Regions from separate parts of the Homo sapiens genome. Here region 1 is linked to region 2. The links are contacts of gene promoters, found by promoter capture Hi-C in blood cells and fetal thymus (Javierre and others, 2016). All regions are on one chromosome and are shown on one strand. Each heading gives the region's core, a stretch centred on a gene start or on the middle of the fragment in contact. The rest is flanking DNA. Distances are from core to core; before and after follow the strand shown. Region 1 holds the start of CLC (Charcot-Leyden crystal galectin). Region 2 holds the start of IFNL2 (interferon lambda 2).

The links. The method cuts DNA at HindIII sites, captures the fragments that hold promoters and counts their contacts. A CHiCAGO score of 5 or more calls a contact.
Region 1: the fragment with the promoter of CLC here is called in contact with the fragment with the promoter of IFNL2 in region 2 in 6 of 17 cell types (total B cells, M0 macrophages, naive CD8 T cells and 3 more); the score reaches 15.7 in total B cells.

The regions. Positions count from the first base shown.
Region 1 is chr19:39,736,772-39,739,471 of GRCh38, reverse strand. CLC (Charcot-Leyden crystal galectin) reads left to right here and starts at 1,443. Exons shown (of 4, transcript NM_001828.6): 1 at 1,443-1,534. The coding sequence starts at 1,520. The HindIII fragment of the contact is 8,050 bases long and covers 1-2,700 here.
Region 2 is chr19:39,267,133-39,269,869 of GRCh38, reverse strand. It overlaps IFNL2 (interferon lambda 2), which reads right to left and starts at 1,474. Exons shown (of 6, transcript NM_172138.2): 1 at 1,292-1,474; 2 at 1,012-1,193; 3 at 641-718; 4 at 233-382; 5 at 49-132. The coding sequence starts at 1,301. The HindIII fragment of the contact is 23,103 bases long and covers 1-2,737 here.

The DNA of each region.
Region 1 (2,700 bases), core at 194-2,693, 470 kb before region 2:
TACTGTAAAAAATTTCAAATGTTTGCAAAAGGAGAGAACTGTCATCCCCAGATTATTTTAGAGCAAATCCCAGATATTATATAATTTCATACACAAAACCTAAAGTTTTTCGGGGGAACAGTGTGTGCTTGGAAAGATGTAGTTGAAAAGAAAGACTGAAAGCAAGTCGTAGGGCATAATGGATTTCTGAAGAAATAGTTGCAACCAGCAGAAGTATGGGCTATTGTGCAGAGGATATGGAAGTTAAAGAAGATCAATCTCTCTGCATCACTGAAAGGATTGCTGGAATGCCTGAGAAGTAAATAACATCAACATCTTTATCCACAGCTTACTAGGTGGCCAGACGCCCTGAACTGATATTTCTTCCCCAGTTCAGATGAATAGCTGGGATATTACTCAAAATTCTATTGCATATCTGTTGCAAGGAAAAGCAGTTCCTCTTTCCCTTCTGTGGTAATTTCTTACAAGCTACAGTTCTGGGCAGGGTGTGAGGGTGGTTGCCTAGAACGGGGTTTCCAAAGCTCCTTAATTGTGGCCTCTGACCCTTTTCATTGCTTCCATGTCCATACCCAGAGTCAAAACCCAAGGAATGCAGTGGGATGACATTACAAATTAATCTTAAGGAAATACGTTATATACCAAAAGAACTGTGTGATTGTGCTGATTTATATGAGCAGAATCTTGGAGTGCATGCTTGGAAATGAATTGTCAAGGTTTTAGATCAGGGAAAGTGGAATTTATTGTCGGGTCAAGCACAACTAATATTAATGCTAATGCATCCTCATCGCTTAGCTCCCACTTATGAGTGAGAAATCTCACCTTTCTCCAAGAATCTGCAGGAGAACGACAGCCTCAGATTTTGATTCACATGAAAAGAAATAGGGAAATAAGAGGGCGTACCTAAAGCCCAGGTGTCTGAGAGACAGAGTGGGAGTGGCTCTCACCTGGCAGAGCCAAGGGATCTGAGGGTGGGTAAAGAAGACACAAGTGTTTTCTCTACTTCTGTCCCCAGGTCCTGCGAATGATCAAGATCTATGCTCTCCCAGAACCACTGGAGAAGGAGGAGGAGGATTTTCTTTCAAAGCCAAGTGCCTTGCCCCCAGGATCTCCAGCTTTTTACCATTGCACAGGTTAGGAGAACGCACACCTTCCTGGTAGATTCTGCACAGTGGAGAAAAGGCTTCATGAGAAGCATGGAGGCTGGAACTCACACCACTCATCCTCACTCCATCGTCTTTATCTGTGCATTTCCCTGGTGACCCCTTCCTCCTCCAGTACCTCCCTCACTGTCGTTTCTGCTGCATCACAGGCACAGGCCTCCAAACAGGTGTGGTTGTGACTGAGTCTGTTTCTGACACCCCACCCCTTCTCACTGTGTGAGGAAACCTTCCTGGGAGGGGCTTGGAATCAGGAATAAAGCCAGAGGCAGGGCTGATAGGGGCCATTTAAATTCTGCAGCTCAGAGATTCACACAGAAGTCTGGACACAATTCAGAAGAGCCACCCAGAAGGAGACAACAATGTCCCTGCTACCCGTGAGTTAAAAAGGCACAGCCTTCAATAATCTCAGGTCACACAGAAAAGGGAAGAGGGAGATTTTATGGGATGAAAATATGAAAATTTCTACTGTGAATGCTTTACTGAGAGTTGTGGGTGTGTGGAAGAGAGACCCTAGGGCTATGGTATCTGAGATGCTCCTGGGGTAGGGGGGTAGGGGGTGTGGATGCTGGAACATTGTGACCCTCTGTGAGCATGTGATGGTATCTGATGAGAGTAAACTCTGCTAAAAATGATGTGACTTTAGACGGGATGTGTATGGCCCTCCAGGATATGGGTGGGTGTGTAAGTGATTGTAATCAGGTGACTGTGTTTTGTCTTCATGACTGTGATGTGAGTGTGTGTGTGAGCACAGCCGGACCAGTGCATGAGCATCTTTATATGCACAGTGAGCAGGTGTGTGTGACTCAGTGAGTGGCACGGCTCTGTGTGACTGTGAGTGTGTGTGCTGGAATGTGACTGGGTGTTGAACTGGGAACATGCATGTGGCCTTCTGTGCATGTGAAGGTTCCTCCCCACATAGCAGTACTCTGTCTAACTTCCCTTGTGCATCACTGTGGATCCCCGGTGACAGAACTTGTGGGATCTTGGGGCCCTTGAGTTACCGAGGACTTATCTCTGAGCATTTATGAGAGCAGAATGCATGAATTCTCAGGTGCCTTTTCCCAAGCAGAATGGGGGTGAGAAACAGACGATGGGGCTGATGGTTCCTTAGGTGGAATCTGCACACAGTGACCACTGGCTCCTGCCTCCAGCCTCAGGTCTCTCCCTGTCTCCTACCCTAGCCTGGCCTTCCCATTGAGTGCCAGGATGCTAGAGAAGGACATTGAGGGACTTGATTTAAGAGACTGAATCACCCAAAACCAGGAAGGTACAAGGCAGAGCTTACAGTGGATATTCATCAAGATGTTTGCTGAGGCCTGTAGTCTCAGCACTTTGGGTGGCCGAATTGAAAGGCCCATGTCAGGCCAGGACTGGTAGACCAGCCTGGGAGACATAGCAAGATTTCATCTTTCCAAAAATTTAAAAATTTATTGAATGTGGTGTTGCATACCGTAGTTCCAGCTGCTGGGGGGCATATGCAAGAGGTTCACTGAAGCCCAGGCCTTCAAACCTGCAGTAATTTTTTTTTTTTTTTTTTGAG
Region 2 (2,737 bases), core at 225-2,724:
TCCCAGTGGCTCCCCAGACCTCAGTCCCTCTCTTCCCGGGTCACTCACCTTTTTTGGGGCCTCCTGGAGCCGGTACAGCCAATGGTGGAGGCGGCCCCGGGTCCTGGGCCCTGCCGTGGGCTGAGGCTGGATCTGTGGGCAGAGGAGGGCGGTGTGTGAGCCGGGGCCTTGGCAAGGGGAAGGACGCTGCTCAGAGCTCACAGACCTGGGTGCCCAGGCCCCAACGACTCACACAGGCCCGGAACTGGGAGAGGATATGGTGCAGGGTGTGAAGGGGCTGGTCCAAGACGTCCACCAGGGCTGGGTCAGTGTCAGCGGTGGCCTCCAGAACCTTCAGCGTCAGGGCCAGCTCAGCCTCCAAAGCCATGGGGCGCTCCCTCACCTGAGGAGAGGTGAGAAAGAGCAGGTGAGGGGGGAGGTGAGGGGAACAGGTTGGGGAGCAGGATAGAGAGGAACAAGTGAAGGTGACAGGCACAGGGGAGAGGGCACAGCCAGTGTGGTCAGGTGGGAGCGGAGGGAAGGGAGAGCAGGTGTGAGGAGAAGAGAGAGAGACAAGGGAGAAAGAGACGGTGAAGGGGCCACTACAGAGCCAGGTGAGTGGGGCTGGGAGAGCAGGGGTGGGCCTGACTCCCCCTCTCACCTGCAGCTGCCTCAGGTCCCAGGTCCTGGGGAAGAGGCGGGAGTGGCACCTGCAGTCCTTCAGCAGAAGCGACTCTTCCTAGACAGCAAAGGCACAGGTTAGCCCCAGCAGGAGGGGTGGAGGTTAGACCATCCTGGTGGGATTGGAGGATGGCTGACAACAGGATAGGGGAGGTTAACTGCTGGGAGGATGGTAGAGGACCCTCTTCTACAGGAAAACATGAGTCAGTCCCTACAGTAGGAGCATGAGATAGCCCACTGCAGGGAGGGTGGAGGCTAGCCCAGTGAAGGAAGCTGGGAGTGGGAAAGCATGGTGACGCTTGGAGTGGGGGTGGAGGCTAGTCCATGGCAGGAGGGCAGGGGGAGACTCACTAAGGCATCTTTGGCCCTCTTAAAGGCCTGCAGCTCCTGTGGAGACAGGGACTTGAACTGGGCTATGTGGCAGCCCCTTGCATCCGGGAGAGCCCCGTGGAGCCTGGCGACAGGAACTGCTCCAGTCACGGTCAGCACTGCGGCCATCAGCACCAGCACTGGCGTGCAGTCCCCAGTCATGTCTGTGTCACAGAGAGAAAGGGAGCTGAGGGGATGGAGAGGCTGCCCACTGAGGGCAGGGGCTGCAGGAGCTGAGCACGGACAGAGATGTGGGACTCACCTAGTTTCATTCCTGATCTCTGGTCTTTGTCAGCAGAAGAAACACTCTGAGGCTGTCACCCAGGGTCTGTTTGGGTCTTGTCTGGAGTCTCTGTTCTTTTCAGTCCCCTCTTCTGGATCTCAGACTGTGTCCTGGCTTTGACTCTTTCTGTCAGTTTTGAGCTCTGTCTGGGATGTAATTCCTGCCTGAGCTCCATGGGGCAGCTTTTATCCCTGACAGAAGGGCAGTCCCAGCTGATGTAGGAAAAGTGAAAACACAGCCTCAGGTAAGACACCGGCCACCAGGGGAGCCCCAGGCTGGGAAAGCCCAGAGCAGGGCAGGGCTAGTGAGCCAGATGAGCAGCTGGAGGGAAAGAGAAACTGATGGAGACTCAGGGGTAACCTACAGGAAGGTATGTTCCCAGGAGGATTCCACCTGCTCTGGTTTTGTTGTTGTTTAAGACAGGGTCTCACTCTGTCACTGGAGTGCAATGGCATGATCACAGCTCACTGCAGCCTCAAACTCCTGGGCTCAAGCCATCCTCCTCACCCAGCCTATTAAAGTGCTGAGATTACAGGCCTGAGCCACCCCTCCTGGCATATATATATATATATATTTTGAGACAGGGTCTTGTTCGGTCACCCAGGCTGGAGTGCAGTGCAAAATCTTGACTAACTGCAACCTCCACCTCCTGGGTTCAAGCGATTCTCTTGCCTTAGCCTCCCAAGTAGCTGAGATTACAGATTTGTGCCACCATTCCCAGCTAATTTTTATGGTTTTAGTAGAGATGACAGTTCACCAATTGGCCAGGCTGGTCTCGAACTCTTGACGTCAAGTGATCTGTCTGTCTTGGCCTCCCAAATTGCTGGGGTTGCAGGCATGAGCCACTGTGCCCAGAGGCCATGATTTCTTTCTTTCTTTCTTTTTTCTTTTTTTTTTGAGATGGAGTCTTGCTCTGTAGCCCAGGCTGGAGTGCAGCAGCGTGATCTCGACTCACTGCAACCTCCACCTCCTTGGTTCAAGGGATTCTTCTGCTTCAGCCTCCCGAGTAGAAAGGACTATAGGCATGCACCACCACGCCCAACTAATTTTTGTATTTTTAGTAGAGACGGGGTTTTGCCATATTGGCCAGGTTGGTCTTGAACTCCTGACCTCGTGATCTGCCTTCTTCGGCCTCCCAAAGTTCTGGGATTATAGGCGTGAGCCACCGCGCCCGGCCAGAGGCATATATGTGTGTGTATATATATATATATATATATATATAGAGAGAGAGAGAGAGAGAGAGAGAGAGAGAGAGCATGAGAGAGAGTGAGTGAGCAAGAGAGATGGAGTCTCGCTCTGTTGCCCAGGCTGGAGTGCAGAGGCACCATCTCAGCTCACTGCAACCTCTGCCTCCTGGGTTCAAGTGATTCTCCTGCCTCAGCCTCTTGAGTAGCTTGGATTACAGGCATGTGCCACCATGCCCAG